Linked DNA regions of Homo sapiens: all the other regions are linked to region 1. The links are contacts of gene promoters, found by promoter capture Hi-C in blood cells and fetal thymus (Javierre and others, 2016). All regions are on one chromosome and are shown on one strand. Each heading gives the region's core, a stretch centred on a gene start or on the middle of the fragment in contact. The rest is flanking DNA. Distances are from core to core; before and after follow the strand shown.

Region 1 (5,138 bases), core at 16-2,515:
AAGAGAGAGAATGGAAACAGTGGGGCCCGGTAAATAATCATTTTATTTACCCTGGTGATAGATGATTGTGATAGGAATGGAGAAAATAAAAAATAATGGAAAGAGATGAAGGTGGAACTGATAGAACATACTGTTGGAATTAATGTTGATGGAAAGTATAGAATGAAGGCTGACTTTTTTTTGGCAAGATTAACAGGGAAATGGTAATGCCATTAACCAAGATGGGGGATCCTGGGCCAGGAGTAGGGTTGGAGGGAGATTCAGTTCTGCTTGCAGTCATAAGACTGAGATACCTAATGGGTACTCAAGGAGAGATGGATGAAGTTGAAGTCGAAGCTCAGAGAAGAGGTCAGAATTGGGTGTGAAAGGAAAGGGGACTGGCTGAGATCTCCTTGGGAGTGAGTTTAGATAGGGAGGAAGTTCAAGGACAGAGTCTTAGGCATATCAACATTAGAAACCAGAGAAAAGATAAGGATTCAGCAAAACGTATTGACAAGGAACAACCAATGAGACACGAGGAAAATCAGATCTGAATGAATTAAATGAAACAAGGCATCAAGAAGGAACGAGTGGTGGAATCTGTCAAGCACTGACAGATGGGGCCTGGGATGTGACCACTGGATTTGCTGGCAGAGAGGCTGGTGATGGCTTTGCTAAGGGCTGTCTTGTTGCTGATGGATTCATGAGAAAACTAGAGGTGGGGAACCAGAATGCAAATATGTATGAGTCTTCTGAAATGTTTTGCCATAAAAGGGAGGAGAATCACAGAGTTAATTTTCATGGAAAACTCAATGGCCTTTGTGCAAAAAATTACAATCAGAAAACCATAAAAATCACTCAAGTCGACCAAAATGTATTAAGTCTCTCCTCTTTGGAAAGCTCAGTTCTATTAAACAGCAGGATGGTGGAAAAGGGACTCAAAAGGGGCAAAATATACCCCATCTCCATGAAGATTATAATAACTCTGAGAGACCCCAGAAGGGGATAGTGCTGTCAGTGAAACATGTGGGGTGTCAGGATCCTTATAAGAAGGGACATTGATTCTGATTAAGGATGAGGGAAGACATAGGTGACCTCAGCTGGGCTTGAAGCATGAGGAAGATTTAATGAGCTTGATTTGATTATCAATCAAACAATAAAATGTAAAGTTAAAAATTAAACCACTGGGCCAATAAAATTCTCCAAGCTGGTAACATAAGGGCTAAAGGTTTTGGGTAATTATTTACCTCCCAGAATTAGACAATTGCAAAGAGCTTAGAATATTTATTTGAAAGGAATGAGGATCCTGCACTCTTCCTCCCTCAGGTTAGTTAGCTTTCAAACTTTTACCCTTAATATTCTGCTTTTGAGATGATGGGAATGGGTCTGTTTCTGTTAGAGAGCAGCTTAATTTGCTGTTTAGGGGCAGAGATTGTGGGAGTGGAGAAGAGAATGCCTGTGTCCTGAGATAATTCTGGTAAGTGAGAAGGGATGTTGCATTAAGAGCCCTGGAACTACAGGGAATTAATTCAAGAGAATGAAATTTTCTAAAAGTATAGCTGAACAGAGACAGACAGACAGACACACACACATACACACACACACACACACACACACACACACACACAGAGGAAGAAAGAGAGAGAGGAAGAGACAGAAACTAAATGATATATTTGGATTGTTTTTGTGAAGTACATTAATTTTTTTAAGCATTGATCAAATCCACAGTGAGACAATAAATGCCAATACTGAATTCTCAGAGAGGAAGATTTTCATCATGCCTAAAAAATTAATGAAAACCAAACGGTTCTGGTTTGGTTCCAGCGAATTTATGGGAAAGCAAAATAAATGAAATCTAATATGGCTTTGGGAAGTAGTTAATGATGAAGAGTTTAGGGCAGAGGACTTTATTTGCAAACTGTGAATAAGAGCCATGGGCTGTTTCTCATAAGGAGGAAAAATGTTCAGTGCTGAGACCACCTAAGATGACATTTGAGCTGTTAATAGCTCTGCCCAGCACCTTAAGGAAAAGTCTCATTCTACAGTGGACTGATAACTAGCAGAGGAACAGGGTGCATATGAATCCAAAAAGAACAGACACAAGCAGTCTTGGCAAGAAAAACTGATGAGAAATTGATATAAGAATGGCTGGCTCCATTTCTTTGCTGTTTTTTCCTCATTTACCTGGTTTCAAAATAAATAGATAAGGCTGATGACTCACACATTTATATTTCTACAAAGGCCCTTCTGTTCTTAGCTATGGACTCACAGACACAAAACTTACCTGTCAATCTTCCCTTCTGGGTCTAACAGGAGTCTCAACCCCAAGTGTCCAAAATAAAGTTCTTGCTTTTCCTCTGGAACCTGTTGCCCTCCCTGCTCATTTCGCCAACTTCTTTGAGTGCAACACTATTCACTCATTTGCTCAAGCCGTAAGTCTAGAAGTCTCTGATGATTCTTCCCTTTCTCTCATTCCCATATACACCTCATTAGCAAGTCTTAGTGGCATATCTCCAAAACAGGTCCTGAATGTGGTCTTTTTCACCACAACTAGCCTAGCCCATCCACCATCAACACTTGTACAGGTGAAGAAACAACTTCTTGTTCAGTCTCTTGGTTCTCAATCTTGTCCTTTACAGCCCATGTGCCACACAGTGGCCATAGTAGATCCAGTCCCCTTACCAGGCCTATAGGACCCAAAATGGTCTGGCCATTTTGGGAGATCGAGACCATCCTGCCCACCCCTTTGATCTCATCTCCTACCATTAACCTCCTCATTCACTCTGCATCGCCATGTTGGACTACCTTCTGCCTAGAAAAACGTGACAAACTTGCTGGTTCCTCTGCCTGGAATTGTTCTTGCTCAGCGCTGTCTCCTTCTCAGTGTTCCCGTTTCAGCTCAAATATAACCATTTCACACAACCACACTAGGTAAGTGGTTAGACTAGGCAGAGTGCTTGCCCTCCTCTCCTGATGCTAATGACCTAGTTGCTGTCAATGCTACTCTTGTTTTTTTCATACCATGTGGCATTCTTACTTCTTTCTTTTCATATGTGCCCCTCCTGGGATGTAACTTTCTCGCAGGTGTACTGTCTGTGCCTGCATCACGCTGTCCCCACAACAGCACTGTCCTCCCTTCACCCTCGGCTGTCTGTTCCCACTGCTCTCATTAACGCCAGCAAAACCATTATCGCCTGTTACTGAAAAAACTGGCAATTGATTTCTGGTTATAATAAGTAAAAGGAGAGGGCAATTTAATGAGAACTAAGTTCTTCAGTCATGCAGGAGATGGAGCTATGAAAGCACAACATTGCATTCATTGATTCAATAAATATTTACTGAATCAATGAATGAACTTGCGGCCAGTGAACTCTTAGACATTGGAACACTCGAAGAGTCTGTGTGGGTATAGCTTGTGGAAAAAAATGTTGCCCTGAAAGCTATGTCTTTAGTTCTTGTGACTGATATGATTTTTTCAATTCAACTAATTGCCCTGAGGTGTGAAAATAAATGATAAGCAAATTATTTTTCCAGCAGACTATTCAGTCCCCTCATTTTACCAAGTTTCTTTTCAGAATTACCAGAACCATTCCATTTGCCAATGAGTATTTGTTTGGATTTCAATTCAATTTTGAGTGTGTTTTCGAATTCCAGTGCAGACTAGAGGGTTCCATGGTCTAACATCTGTGGTTTTGAATGACATCATTGAGGCAACTTCTCTGTCAGTTGCTTACTTACCAGCTTTAGTGGTACGTTACATAACATTTCCACTTATCTTTAAACACAATAGCACCAAAGGATCAGGTCTATTTTCTTTTATATTAATAAGAATAGTCCTTCACAGAGAGCACATGGAAAATGATTTCATTTCACCAGCACCTACTGCTTATCCCTTTACATTTTATTCCTTTACATCTGCTTGGTGCTGTAACTTTATATCTGCTTGGTGCTGTAACTTCTCTGATCATTGTCAGTAGTAATAGATTTATTGCTTATTTGTAGTCTTCAAATAATCTCATTTTTTAATTAATAGGTCCAGTCCAGTGAAAACCAGAAAATTCCAAACTTGATCTAAAAGTATACCTTCTTTCCCCTGCCCCCCAACCCGCTGCTCCAGTTTGGGCCTGGGGAGGGAAGGGATCATTTGGTTGGTTTCTTGATCCCTTTCTCTGTCAGCAACTCCTCTCACCCCTCTTGCTAGCTGTGGCTTCTGATCTTTCCAGGGCTGGTGGGTAGGGAGTTAGAAGCAAGAAGCAGGAAGTGTCTTTCTTAGCTGGAGCTCTTGTGACCTGGCATTGGTGGTCTCTGGGTTGGATGAATGTTCAATGCTGAATCCTTTATTGTACCCCACTGGGGGCATCCACCAGTCCTCCCATGTCAGGGGTGATATGTGTTCACTAACTCAGCAGTTAGGGTTCCTTTCTCAGGTGTTGGGCATCAGGCAGTCCGCCCTGTCTTTTGGGGTCGTGTGGCTTCTCCAGACAGTTGTCATTTAAGAGATTGTAAACTGGATTTTTCCTGAGTCATCCGTATCTGGTTCACAAGGGACCTGCTGGTCTCCACCTGTGCTTCTTCACCTCTGCTGCCGTGGGACGTATCACAGCCTCCAGTGTGGTGTAGACCTTTGCTGTGCTCTGCAGCCTCAGACCAAGAGTCACCACCTCATGCCCTTAGATTCTGAGGCATGTGTCACTCACCTTTATGCACACACATGCACACACACATAGGGGACATATGTCAAGCTCCCTGAATGACCTCCTTGCAGGCAGCTCCTATAATTTGACTTGAAGTGACGGGGCAGTGCCCTCCTCCTTTCTTTCCTGGAGTGAGAGTGAATACCTGACAGAGAATACCAGCAACTGTCTCTAAAAACATTCTCACCTTTTTCATCTCAGCCTACCTGTGTCCCTGAAATTTATTTTTAATTACAGTAATAATTCAAATTACATTATTGTTGTAACACATGTAAACACCAAAGACAAAGTTCAATGCCTGCATGGCCGTTCCTACCCTCCCCATTCCTTTGCAGAGAGAGTTTCTATTTCTTCCTGGTTTAATCTAGGAGGGTTTTATATTTCCAGGAATTTATCCATCTCCTCTAGGTTTTCTAGTTTACACACGTAAAGGTGTTTATAGTAGTCTTGAATGATATTTTGTAT
Region 2 (4,911 bases), core at 103-2,602, 570 kb before region 1:
CCAAGAAACAGGAAATAAATGATGTGAGCCAATGATTGCCCCAGTATACTATTTGGAGGAAGTTTTTTCAGGTCACAGGGCAGGGAAGAGGCACCTTTGTGGAGGTATCCTGGAACTGAGGAGACAGCTGAGAGTCTGGAGAGTAAGGTGGCTAGAGTGCCTAGGGCAGAGCACCAAAGACATGAGAGCTGCCCTGGGAAAACTTGAAGACCTACAGAAGGTCCCCCTCAAACATTCAGCTAAGTGCTGATCAGTGCATGTGTGTGGGAGAATGCCCAAGGTCAGGGGAAGAACCACTAAATTAACGTGAGGAAACAATCATCAGAGCTCACATAGTGCTAGAAAGGGTGAAAACTTGTGAATCTGTCTTCTGGGAATGTCAGGCTCTGTGACAGTCACACAGAGGTCAGTCTCTGCATACCCAAGACTTAAAAACATCTGTGAAATTGAACCGCTAACTCAGCAAGTGTTTCAGCAGGTGAGTCAACTATGTACCAAGCACTTGGAGCCATTAATAACACCCTACCAACCTGACTCAAAGTGTTGCTCAGGAAAAGTCTCTCTTAAGTGGGAACACCTCCCATGCTCATCAAATGCCACCATCCCCCAAAAGCTTCCTCCACACCAGCCATCTTTCTGGGTACTCCTCCTAGCTTGCCACCCCTAAGCCCTGGGACTTTTCCTTCCTGCTCTTTCCCATCAATACTGCCCTGTCTCATTCCTTCAGGACCTGGCCCCTCTGCTACTCAAAGTGGCAGCAAGCCTTCTCATAGCCTAACCAGCGCAAATGAGTGAGAAGCTGAGAGTTAAAGTGATTTCACCCAGTCACTCTCCTTCTCAGTGCAATGCGTTATGTAGTAGCAGTAGGGGTTTTCAGGAAATGCATGATCTCAACACGGAATAGCTGCCGTGTGGACATTGCTGGTATGCTAGCAAACAGAGTGAGGAAGAGTTTGGAGCAAGCAGGCATGACCATGCCCCCTTAAATCCCATCAAAGACAAAGTGACATTTTTCTCCACACATAATCCACCCCTGGGAAGATGCAGGACAGAGTCACAGAGCATTTCACATGTGTTAGGGGAATGTCCTATGTGTTTGGGGAAAACAAAAGGAAGATAGGAAGGAGGAAAAAATAAAGGAGATTCAGTCAACAAGCACTAGTTGAATATCCTACACATGCCAGGTACTGCTCTAGGTTTTGGGGTTATAGCAGTGAACAAATGGTTTTGTTCCTTTTATACTACCATGGAAATTTCCACCTTGGAGGACACAGAACTTTGAATGTGTCTTTGTAAGAAGTTTCCCAGATAAGTTTGATTGTCAGGCAATTTGAGGAACCACTATTGAAGCAACAGTTGAGATTCTTCTCATTGATCCAAAAAGCAACCTACAATACTCATGGCTGTTGACTTTGGAAAACAGTTTTATTGAATATCAAGGTGCTATCTTTCTTCACACAGTCTACCAAAGGTTTGCTTTGATGTCCTCCTAATCCTTCTCCAAACACTGAGGCCCCTCCCAATCTACTCCATATACTTATGCTTTGTGTATCAGGTCCCACCTGCACCTCTTAGAAAGTACCCCAACTCCCAATTATTTATCAGTCTCTTCACCACATGCCCATCAATTATATTTAGCAATATAATACGTACTGAGGACTTTTGATAAGAGGTATGTTCCTTCTGATTTATACATATTTTCTCATGTCATCCTAAAACTTTATGTAGTGGGTATTATCCTGCAGAAGAGGAAAGTGAGACAGACAGATTATATAACAAGACCATTGTTACTGAGAATGAGGTCATTCTTTATGTATTAACATGACCTTCCATCTTTCTACTGTGCCTCCATCATACTGAATAATACCTTAAGTTTTGAAATTGAGAGGGAGAAGAGGGAGAGAGAGAGAAAAGGAGAGAGACCTAGAGGGAATTGGGGGAAGAGAGGGGGAGAGGCTCTTAAATACAACACCTCTTCCATTTACTTGATATATGAACTTCACCTCTTAAAGCCTCTTTTCCACATCTGCAACAGAGAAATAATGACTCCTACTCTATGTAGGTTGTGGGGTTTAAATGAGGTTATGGATATAAAGCTTCTAAGTACTGCACTTGCTACATGATAAGCTTAAGTATGTGATAATAACAGCCCTATATCCATATACTCTGTTTTTTCTTCAGTTTTTTTTTTTTAAACCAGTATCTGACATTATATTGTGTGCGTGGTAGGTGGGTGTATTATCTCTCTGTCCCACTGTATTTTTTTTTTTTTTGAGACAAAGTCTCACTCTTGTTGCCCAGGCTGGAGTGCAATGGCATGACTTCGACTCAACGCAGCCTCTGCCTCCCAGGTTCAAGTGATTCTCTTGCCTCAGTCTCCCAAGTAACCAGGATTACAGACGTACGCCAACACACCCAGCTAATTTTTGCATTTTTAATAGAGACGGGGTTTCACTATGTTGGCCCAGGCTGATCTTGAACTCCCAACCTCAGGTGATCCACCCGCCTCAGCCTCCCAAAGTACTGGGATTACAGGCATGAGCCACTGCACCGTGCTGTCCCATTGTATATCATAAGCTCCACATGAGAAGGAATTTTGCCACATTTACCTCTGTATCCACAGTGCTTACAATGATGGCTGGCTTCTAGTAGGCACACTTTAAGTATTTGTTGAAGGAATGGTTGTTATGACCATAATCTTCCCTACAGCACCTTACTACAAACATAGTAGTTGCCCTACGAATGCTTTCTATGTGGTTTGCAGTAAATAGAATGCAAAACCCTTATTATCATACTATATTGCCACCCATCTCAGCTAAACTGAATGAATAAATAACCTTCTGGCTGGGGTAACCTATTTGAAGATAGAGGTCACAAAAACAAAGAGGGCATTTAATAAATATTGATTATTCATTACATTGCCTGCTTTCTACCCTGGCCTCTAGGAAAAAAAAAGTTCAGTGAATGTCATTCCTTCTAAGATGTATATTTAAACCTTTAAGATCTCCCGTATTTTTATAAATTTCCTAAAATATTGTATTATTTTTACAAATGGAAACAAAATTTTAATTGAGAAAAAATAATACAATAACTTAGCATGGAAAAAAGCACTGCACTCTAACCTGGGCGATAGCTCAAGACCCTGTCTCAAAAAAAAAAAAGAGAGGGTATTTAAGGTAAAGTCAAATCTTTCTTGCTCCATCTCTAACATCTGTCCCTAGAGGCAGCCAAATGGTAGTTTGGCATTTATCAGGATGACCAGGATGTCAGATTCTGTCTTTTTGTGTTTGATGTTACCAACCATTAATGTTCAATTCTATGATTTATCATTTCATCAGGGGCTTGCAAAAGGGCAAAACTCCATCACTTCTTTTTCATACATTAACTATAATCCTTTGGTAAGATAAATTTCCCTTTACCTACAACTTGCTTACCCAGTTGTACAGTTTGCAAAGAAAAGAATACATAATATTTTTCTTTAATTATTTTTCAAAATAAGGAGTTGGTTTCCTAGGACCCTCTAATTTTAGTTACATTATGAACACATTGCGTTAAACATATTTGATGAGTTTGAATCCACTCATTACTTGTATTAGTGCTCATATCATCCCATTTTGGTCAGTGAGAAGCCTATTTTTTAACTGGCAAATAAAGTGTGTATATTTAGAGTATACATGATGTTATGATATATGCATACATTGTGGAATGGCTGAATAGAGCTAATTAACATATATGTTACCTCACATACTTTTTTTGTGGTGAGAACACTTAAAATTTGATCTCAGCAATTTTCAAGTATACAATATGTTAACTATAGTGAACACAATGGACAATAGATTTCTTGAATTTATTCCTCCTGTCCAACTGAAATTTTGTATCCTTTGACTAACATCTTCCCAATTCGCCCATCTCCCAGCCTTTGGTAACCATCACTCTACTTTCTGCCTTGATGAATTTGACTTTTTTAAATCTTACAATTGCTATGTTGAAAGATGGTATTCCCTCCAAAACTCATGTTGAAACTTAATCCCCATGCAAAAGTATTAAGAGCTGTGGCCTTTGGAAGGTGATTCAGTCATGAGGGCTCTACCCTCATGAATGGAATTCGCACACTTAAAAGGGCTCAAGGTTGAAGGGAGAGTCCTCTTGCTCCTATGCTCTTCTGCCATGTGAGGACAGTGTTCTTCCCCTCCAAAGGATGCAGCAACTAGTTGCCAATTTGGAAGCAGAGATTGGGTCCTCACCATGTATCAAACCTGCCAGTGTCTTTTTCTTGAACTTCCCAGCCTCCAGAACTATGAGAAATACATTCCTGTTGAAAAATTACCAGTCTGTGATATTTTATTATACCAATATCAAACAGACTAAGACATACATATAAATGCGATCATGCAGTATTTGTCTTTTTGTGCTGGCTTATTTCATTTAATATAATGTGCTCTAGTTTCATCTATGTTGTCACAAATGACAGCATTTCCTTCTTTTTTTAAGGCTGAATAGTATTCCATTGTGTGTATATACACATTTTCCTTATCCTTTTATTCACGATAGATTGAGGTTGATTCCGTATCTTGGCTATTGTGATTAATGCTGCAATAAACATGGGAGTGCAGATATTCTCTTTTCAAATATCTCTGACACACTCACTTCAATTCCTTTGGATATATACCCATTAATGGGATTACTGGGTCATATGATAGTTCTATTTTAAATTTTGGGGGGAAACTTCATAGTGTTTTCCATAGCAGCAGTGCTATTTTATACTTTCACCAGCAATTTAAGGGTTCCCTTTCTTCTATATCCTCACCAACATTATTATCTTTCATCTTGTTGATAATAGCTGCTCTAACAGGTGCGAAGTGGTAAGTAGGAAGGTTTTCAAGCTGGCCCTTGTGAGTCATTTTGAGATGA
Region 3 (4,709 bases), core at 2,104-4,603, 510 kb before region 1:
CTACTCATCTCCCATTGGTGCTGCCACCACAATCCCTCAATCTCATATGCATATGGGTGACCTCCTCACTCCACTTGGTCTCTGACATCCTGTGTGAGCTCCCTGTCACTGCCCTCCCCCCCATATGGGTGCTCTTCTCACCCCTCTTTGGCTTAAAAACCCAATTCTGGGTTGCTACTGATACACCCAAACCCAGACACAGATGCCCTCCTCACTCCACTGGGGCTGCAATCCCTCAGACTGGGCTGCTGCCACTCCTGCCCAAGACCTACCTCACTCTGCCCTTCTTAATGACTTTGAACTGAACTAATCAAGGAGGAAGGAAGGAAGGCACGAATCAACTAAAATATCTTTGAGACAATTTGGAACATAAGTAAATCTATTTTATAGCTCTTTAGAACAGCTAAAATGTTCTTCATGATCTCACCTGGTCTACTTATGGTGGAGTCAGGTGAGTGCGCTGGAATAGTGTGCTCTTAATGTACAAGCATATGCTTTCAATTTACAAGAGGAAGCCTTCACTGAAAATTCCACTGTCAAGCAGCACTGATACATGGCCTTGTAAAAAGAAAGCTCTGTTTATTGGAGTCAACACAATTATTGTATCCAGGGTAAAGACTTTTTTTAAATGAAATCTCCTAAAATGATCTTTGAGTTCGAGTCATAGTAAGGAATTGATGAGTCGTGCCAAGGAGGCCTATAATGTTATAGAAGACAAGCTGGGTAGAAAGTATTTCTCTCTCAGAATGAATTGATACCTGTAGCAACACCACATCTAATAGAAAAACAATGTTAAAGCATCTCAAAGCACTACTGAAAAATGAAAAACATTACTATAGTGAAAAAATATTGAAAGAATAATTAGAAATACAAGCACCAGCACATATAACTACTTCTAAATAATGTATATAACAATTTTTGGTAATGGTGGCCAGTCTACTTATGTGTAGACTGAGAAAGAAATATAAATATATGTATCTATGTACATCCTTCAAAATATATAGAAACTGTGACTATTTTAACTATTTGTGTCCTAAAACTAAAAGGTACAGCATTAAAAATATAGAATTTTTTTCTATCAAAGTGACATATAATCACTATAATAAATATGATACAGGAGAAAGAGAAAAATGCAATCATGTATTGCATTTTTTAATTAAATTAAACTTCTGCCACCCAGGTTTAACTCTATCTAATATTTTGGTATATTTCCTTTCAATCATATTGTCTGTTTTCAGAAATGGGATCATGCTATACATACTGCTTATGTTTTGAATTTTTTCCCAATGACACATCATAAACATTTTCCCATCACCTTGGATATTTGATAACATAATTTTAATGGCTATGTAGTATTTTGTTGTATAGACACACCATAATTTATTTAACCAATTTTCTATTGTCGGGTATTTAAGTGGTTTCTAATTTTGGACATTACAAATGATGTGGGGGGGGGGTTGGGTTATTTTATTTTATTTTTTTCTGAGACAGGGTCTTGCTCCATCACTCAGGCCTGAGTGCAGTGGTGTGATCTAGGCTCACTGCAACCTCCACCTCCCAGGCTCAAGCAATCTCCAAGTAGCTGGGACTACAGGCACATGCCACCATTCCCAGATACATTTTTCAAAATATTTTTAGTAGAGATAGGATTTCACCACGTGCCTAGGCTGGTCTCAAACTCCTGGGCTCAAGCAATCCACCTGCCTCAGCCTCCCAAAGTGCTGGGATTACAGGCATGGGTCACCACGCTTGGTCAAAAATGTTTTAATAAACAACTGTATATAAATCTTTGCTTGCATCTATGATTATTTCTTCAGAATAAACGTTTAGTAGCAGAAATTGAGTTGCTAGAGCAAATAGTGTTGTGCAAAATTATGTTAACAGATCAATAGGATATGCAGAAGAGTAATATACTTTCCTAAAGTATGTGACAGTTGTTGATAAATATAATTAATTTGAATTGTCAGTGTTTTGGTTGAATTGTGTGCTTAACAATCTCTAGGAAAACTAAAGAACAAACTGTCTGCCAAAAGTCTCAGAGAAACAGGATTATTACTTTGATGCTGGTTCCAAGGGCCTCCCTTAGCTTTCCTGGTAATAAATTATTGTCTCATATCACACTGGCAGAGAAAACAGTAAAATATTTATTTTGGAATATCTGCTTTCTATCTGGCAGGGATTTGACATTTTAAAACCTTTTCAAAATATTTTAGAACCACAAAATACAGTAAGCTTTGAATTAAGAATTAATTAGGGTTTTCTTTATCCCTACTGTTTGATCAATTTTTCAAAAGCCAAAAAAAAAAAAGTGCTACACAGAATACAATTAACTGTTAGTTTTCAGTAATTTTAAAGTGTGCTGTTGCTTAGAAGGCAGACTGGATCAGATGACCTCTTGGGATCCTTTCGAGCTCAGTAATTCTAACTTTTATATTCAATGAGTTTTATCTTGCACTTATCACCCATTGCTCAACCTGGCCCTTTCCTCTTTACCACATATTTTCTTTATGTCTTAATTTTCCTTTTATACTCACAGAGGGTGTCTAACCCTTTATTGGTATAATTATGGAAATGTTTTTATGTGAACATTAATCTAACAATGAAGGAGACAAGAGCAGAATGCCAGGTTCAGTAATGCTTATGCAGTCATGAGCATGAAACACTCTTAGAACATTTTATTTTATTTATTTACTTTTTTAAGACAGGGTCTTACTCTTTTGCCCAAGCTGGAGTGTAGTAGCGCAATCTCGGCTCACTGCAAAACCCCCTCCCCGGCTCAAGGGATCCTCCCAAGTCAGCTTCCTGAGGAGCTGGGATTAGCATGTGTTACCACACCTGGCTAATTTTTGTATTTTTAGTAGAGCTGGGGTTTCATCATATTGGCCAGGCTGGTCTCAAACTCCTGACCTCAAGTGATCCATCCATCTCGGACTCCCAAAGTGCTAGGATTATAGGCATAAGCCACCATGCCTCTTAGAACATTTTAAAAAATTAAGTCTTGGCTTGAAATCTGATGTAGTGTGACTATACTTGAGAATAATAGGAAATTTCCCAAATGCTAAAGACTTAAAGTACAAGAGAAAGTCAGTGTTCTTTTTTCATACATAACTTTCTACAGGAAAGATAAAAGAAAAACTATCACAATATTATGTATTATTTATCCTCGCTAGTTTATCAAACAACAGTTTTGTAATTTAATGAAATTCCTGTTTTCTATATGAGTATATTGCTCTAACATATGCTGTATATGATTAATGTTTCATTTGTTTGGCTAGTTACTGCTCATTGCTCTGTGTGTGTGTGTGTGTGTGTGTGTGCGAGACAGAGAGAGACCATGTTAAACACAGTATTATTCACCTGTTGTTCGCCTGTTGGTTAACGCTCTGGTATCCATGTCCCACTTAACCTTTCCCAACAGTCTACACTTCTATTGGAAATTTATTGTTACTCTACCCCCAACTATCCCATTATTTCAGGGATAAAATGAATGACATGTACTGCGCCCAAGAAAGTCTTATTGCCCTCATTGCAGTGATTAGATCAGTCATGGGTCTGTGGTCTAAGTCAAGTGCGAATTTCAGGATTTTTGCTGACAATTCTGGAACACATGTTTCTTTCTTTCTGTGTAGTGTGGGATGTGGATGTGAAGGGAGAACTGCTATCCTCACTTTGCCACCATATAGTATGTTCACCTCAGAATGAATCGAACACATTTTCTCTGACTTTACAATACAAAAAAATGTTTTTGAAGAATTGCCAGGCACTGTGGCTCATGCCTCTAATCTCAACACTTTGGGAGACCAAGGCAGGGAGATTACTAAAGGCCAGGAGTTCAAGACCAGACTGGCCAACATGGCAAAATCCCATCTCTACTAAAAATACAAAAAAATTAGCCAGGCGTGTTGGTGTATGCCTGCAGTGCCAGTTACTTAGGAGGCTGAGGCATGAGAATTGCCTGAACCTGGGAGATGGAGGTTGTAGTGAGCCAAGATCATGCCACTGCACTCCAGCCTGGGTGACAGAGCAAGACCTTGTCTCAAAAGAAAAAAGAAAAAGCAAACAAAAAAGAAGAAATTGGGCAGGCCCAGTGGCTCACACCTGTAATCCCAGCACTTTGGGAGGCTGAGGCAGGCAAATCACCTGAGGTCAGAAGTTTGAGACAAGCCTAGTCAACATGGTAAAACCCTGTATCTACTAAAAATACAAAAATTAGTCGGGCGTGGTGGTGCACACCTGTAATCTCAGCTACTTGGGAGGCTGAGGCAGGAGAATCACTTGATCCCCGGAGGCAGAGGTTACAGTGAGCTGCGACTGCACCACTGCACACTAGCCTGGGTGACAAAGCAAGACTTGTCTAAAAAAATAAATAAATAAATAAATCCAACACACAAGAGGCAAAATTAAAGAGAAATTTAACCCTGATTGATCTGTACCTAAAAGAATAATTTCCCTCTATTGTATAAGGAAGTTTGAATTAAGCTTTTGGTTACTTGCAACTGAAAATAAAACTACTGCAGGATCTCAGACGTGGATATGGCCTTGGAAGCACAGAAGAAGACAAATGGTTCTGGCCTTCTCCAGAAACAATACCTTGTAAGAACTTCTTGGTTTAGGAAGAGACTAAGGAAAGTATAAGAAGAGGAGATCTTTTACTTTCATTCATTGTTACTGACTTTTTGCTTAGTTGTTCTGTTCATTATTGAGAAGTA
Region 4 (4,786 bases), core at 260-2,759, 530 kb before region 1:
TAGTGAGGCCACTGGGCCTCTTATTCGAGATTCTTTCTTTTCTCTTTTTCTTCTCTGTCATCCCAATTAGCTTTCAGAGTGTCTATGATAAAAAAGAAAAAGACAATCTACAATTCAAAAAATTAAAAATTATACTAGAGTTTATGCCTGTAAGTGATCTTTTGATAATAAAACATGTAGGATTTTAAAATTTTGATACTCAATTTTTACAAAAACAAAACTGAAATGTACACCACTGTTTCACAGAGGATATCTTATAAGAGAATTAGAATGGCTGAATCTGAACTTGGCTTCCATAGCTTCTCACATCCAGAAATTCCAAATAAATAAAGTAACTCAAACAACGGCAGTCTGACAACTCCTATCAGACCTGGAGGACACAGGGACCCATCTTCCATGTGTTAAAGGGTGAGGAAGAAAGTAAAATAGGAAAACAAAAAAAGTATGCTTTATCCAAGGGCCTATGTCTTCCCCAAATGACTTTACATTCAGAATCTCTTTGCCTAACTCTCCCCAATTTGAGAGGTATTTTTCTTCAAAATCCTGATCCTGCTTTCATTCCATTCCCTGTTTAGTATAAATTCCTGGCTAAACACACTTGGTCTCAGAGAACCATGTCAAAGGTTACTAAGGTCAAAAAAGCTTTTCTTATTTTCTGACAGTCCCTGAGGTCCTGAGAGAATGCATTCTTCTTTTGTTTGGCTGGTAAATAGGAAGTTCTGCATTTTACTTTCCCCAACAAGGAAGCAAATATTTTCTTATTGTCTTATTCTGTGGCTGTATTAAAGAAAAAAATCAGCATTTCCAGAGCTCTATGCTAACAGGCCACTGGGTGGCAGTCCTGAGCTGTAATGCAGAAGAGAAGAGTCAGGAAAAACCTGTAAACCAGAGCGGGAGATATAATAATGTTCAGGAGATAACAACGTCATCAAAGATCAACTACTTTCCACCAATAGAGCCTAATTAAATGAAAGGAATCATACCAGGAAAAAATGGAGGTAGTATCATACGTTTAAATTAAAACTGCCCAAGACGCTTAGATAAAATTGGCAGAAAAGCATCCCTCCTTCCACTTTCATTATCACCAAGGTAACATGGTCCAGAGTGGAGCTGAATGTCAACCCAGTGCTAATGGGCAGGCTTCTTCCTACTCAATTTTCCCTTTTTCACCAGGACTTCAGAATAAAGCACTAGAACTCACACTGTCCTGCTCTGCAAGCTCCAACCCCAGATTAATCCTGAAATCCCCCTTCTCTGCTTCTATATCTTAGTGATTTGGGGCTTCTAGAGAGAAGTACAACCGTGGGAACTGGTATCTTCACAAAGGTATACTTTCCGATTTCAGAAGAATACTCCATTCATCTTGTCAATACTTCTCCTTATCTAAAAACAGCATCTCTCCCCTCATCCCTTCTCCTTCCCTCACTCCTCTCTATAGCGAGAATCTCATACCTTCAGTTCTGTCCATCCCCTGTCAGCAAGTGATCTTGCCCCCACAGAGACTACTGAGCCCACAAACCCTCAAATCTTCACTCTTCCATCCCACCCCCATACACATCCTGCCCCCATACAGGTTTATCTTCATTTTCACTCATTCTTGCTTCCTGTCCCACCAATCACAAGAAATAGAACAGCTGCCCTCCTCTCCCCTCCAGGTGTCTCCCAGCATTTCACCACATGCATCAATTTCTGTGTCTACATAAACTGTTTGCCCCGCCCCCACCCCCGAATGCTAATATGACAAGAGGACATATTAGAGGAGAATCGAATTCTCTTAGCAAATGGCATGAAAATTCCTTTTGGAGATTTCTTAGAAAAATTCATGGATAAGCCCATTGAGGTTGAAGGCGAGACCTTGACTCTGGGTTGATCACTCAGTTCTAGACAAGAAAAGTAATTCCTTGCTCTAAAGGAGGAGGAAGTTGGGAAAAACGGAGGAGGAGCCAGCAGGATGGCAGAGGGCAGTGTGGTTGGGCGTATAACCCCTCTCCAGGAGCACCTCCAAACTACCTTAAAGTTCCTTGTTAAATTGTTAACTCAATAGATTACCATTAACATGAGTGTTTGTGTAGAAACTGGCGAGAAGGCTGAGATTCGCACTGTGGTGCCACAAGATGGATCTGAAACCACAGGTACAGATGTGGCAGGGGACACAAAGAGAAGCATGAGGGAGCAAGCCTCAGAAATTTAGGGAAATCATAAAAGGAATCTTGGACTGTGGCTTTGGACCAGGTTTACAAAGATGGACCAACATCTCACAGAGCCAGGGAGGCCCCAGCTGACATTGGCTTGCTCTAGCTTCTCCCATCCTAAACAAAAGCCTCTCTACCCTGAGCCCTTTTTCACTTTCTCCTTCTGTCATCATCCAACTCTCTCAGAAGCTTGGTCTGTACTTGTGGCAGCTTCAGCACCTCCCAATAATTTCTCAAACTTCTGCTGACTGTTCTCACCAAGGTCATCAATGATGTCCTCATGAGGAACATTCTCAGTCCTTGTCTCACAGAACAGTTCTTCTTCATTAGGCACCACTGATAACTTTCATCTTATCTCTCCTTGGGTCTCTGACCTTTCCAGTTGCCTTCACCATGGGCTGCTCCTCTTCTTTCTGCTGCTTAAATGTCAGTGTTAGGGATTGAGGAGGTGCATTTCCAACCAGCATCTGAAAGACTTATGATGTTCACCAAACTAGGGTTAACAAGCCTGTGAGTTGAATTTGACTACAATTGAGTCAAACTGAATGGTGCAATCAGAGTGTGAATGAAGGAAAATAAAGAAACCAAGGGAGGAAACATTATAAATGGCAGGGAAGGGAGGCCAAGAATGTTCTTGAGAATATTAAGAATATTCTGAGAATAAAAGAAACAAGCTGGGTATGGTGGCTCACACCAGCAATCCTAGCACTTTAGGGAGCTGAGGCAGAAGAATTGCTTGAGCCCAGGAGTTCAAGACCAGCCTGGGCAAAATAGCGAAATCTTGTCTCCACTAAAAATACAAGAAATTAGCTAGGCATGGTGGTGTGCATCTGTGGTCCCAGCAACCCAAAGGCTGAGGTGGGAGGATCACTTGAGCTTGGGAGGTCGGGGCTGCAGTGAGCCAAGATTGCACCACTGCACTCCAGCCTGGGCCACAGAGTGAGACTTTGTCTCAGGGGGCGGGGGAAGGTGGGAAAAAAGAACAGAGTAGATACAGAAGCCAAATTGCAATACAAAGAGAGAGGTTAACATTGTGAGAGAAGGTGCAGGTGTTCAGAGATAGAAGGAAGTAATGTTATAAAAATAAAACTATATTTGTGTAATTTAACATAAAATAGTTCCTTGACAGGAAAAAAATTATGGGAAGCACTGTGCTACATAAATTCAACTGAAAATGTGTTCATCCAACCATTAATCATAATCTGTCTGGGCCAATGAAATACAAATGATGTTCTTGTTAGCTGCAGTAGGCTTCAGAGTCAAAGGCATTCAGATTATGTTCCCACTACATTCTAACAGGAAAATCAATCCATTCACTAAATGGGCGTTAGCAATAAAATACACTAGAGCGTTCCAAAACACACAATTTACCTGGTTTATTGGGCCAGATTATCTTTCTCTGTAGACATATGATCCTTCTTTGAAATGCTTTGTCCTCATTCAGCTTTTATTCATGTGACTAAATGCTAGAGTTTCACTGTAATCCTACCTATTCCAACCCAGAATTCATGGTAAAATATTCCATCTTGGACTCTGTTCAAGAAAACGAATCCGAAGAACTGGTAGAAGAACTGAAATACAACATTGTTACACCCATTCTATAGCCCCCACGTTGTCCAATATTCTGTTGTTATAACTACATGTGGTTGTTTAAATATAAATTAATTAAATAAAATTAAAAATTTGATTTTCCCTTTTATACTAGTCACCACTCAAGTGCTCAGTTGCCACATGTGACTAGTGGCTACTTCATTGGACAATCAAAAAGTATTTCCATCATTGCAGAAAACTGTTAGATAGCACTGATAGACAGACAGACACATACATACATACATACACACACACACACACACACACACACACACACACACACACACGCTCTGTGGTCATTAGGCAAGGACCATCAGAATAGCATGAAAGTAAAATGTCTGTCAGTGCAGAAGCCAATATGCCAAACTTTAACCTCCATACCCTAGTTTTAATTTCTGTATCAGGCTGTCTTATTGTCTTATTAAACTAATCTGTATTAAGATGATTTTTTCCTCCCAGAGGTATGTTAGTCATAGGTCACTAGATTGAGTGCCTAAGGAAGGCTGTAGCATCTCCTTCTATATAAAATAATTTGGAAACTGCCCCTTTTGGAAATTGGTAAGTAGAGTTATGAATTCTGAAAACTTCTTACATTTATTTTGCTCAAATAGAAAGATTTATAGATTTAGCAAAACTCACAGTCTATGTGGACAGTGCTAGCTTATTTGTACTTACTAGATCCTTATATGTTAGGTCCCAATGGGTTATTAACTAGGTAAGTCACTTATCTTCCCTGAGACTCAGTTTCTTTGACTATAAAATGGGAATTATAACATCAATGTCACAGATTTGTTATAAAGAAAGATTAAATATGATGTTGTATAGGAAAGTGTAGCCTTCATGGAAGTGGGCAAGAAATGATTAAAGAGTAACCACAGTTGCAAGTCAGGTGGAGTGTTAAAGATTCTAATGACTTCTGCACTTCAATCTAGGAATGGCTTTTGCCACCAAAGAGCCAGAAGCTTGCAGAAAATTCCTCTTACCACAAAGAGTGCAGAGCAGAA

The links. Contacts are between HindIII fragments. The CHiCAGO score rates a contact against its expected background, and 5 or more counts as called.
Region 2: a contact is called between a fragment that was not itself captured here and the fragment with the promoter of SLC17A4 in region 1, in 2 of 17 cell types (M1 macrophages and megakaryocytes). The highest score is 6.9, in M1 macrophages.
Region 3: a contact is called between a fragment that was not itself captured here and the fragment with the promoter of SLC17A4 in region 1, in 5 of 17 cell types (megakaryocytes, M1 macrophages, erythroblasts and 2 more). The highest score is 9.2, in megakaryocytes.
Region 4: a fragment that was not itself captured here is called in contact with the fragment with the promoter of SLC17A4 in region 1 in 5 of 17 cell types (megakaryocytes, erythroblasts, M2 macrophages and 2 more); the score reaches 9.3 in megakaryocytes.

Annotation. Positions count from the first base shown.
Region 1 is chr6:25,753,477-25,758,614 of GRCh38, forward strand. It overlaps SLC17A4 (solute carrier family 17 member 4), which reads left to right and starts at 1,266. Exons shown (of 12, transcript NM_005495.3): 1 at 1,266-1,305. It also overlaps a transcript of SLC17A1 not described here. The HindIII fragment of the contact is 7,086 bases long and covers 1-5,138 here.
Region 2 is chr6:25,186,633-25,191,543 of GRCh38, forward strand. No RefSeq gene overlaps it. Among named protein-coding and RNA genes, the nearest start is that of CARMIL1, 90 kb to the right of the region's middle. The HindIII fragment of the contact is 1,483 bases long and covers 612-2,094 here.
Region 3 is chr6:25,237,193-25,241,901 of GRCh38, forward strand. No RefSeq gene overlaps it. Among named protein-coding and RNA genes, the nearest start is that of CARMIL1, 40 kb to the right of the region's middle. The HindIII fragment of the contact is 2,247 bases long and covers 2,231-4,477 here.
Region 4 is chr6:25,222,825-25,227,610 of GRCh38, forward strand. No RefSeq gene overlaps it. Among named protein-coding and RNA genes, the nearest start is that of CARMIL1, 54 kb to the right of the region's middle. The HindIII fragment of the contact is 1,739 bases long and covers 641-2,379 here.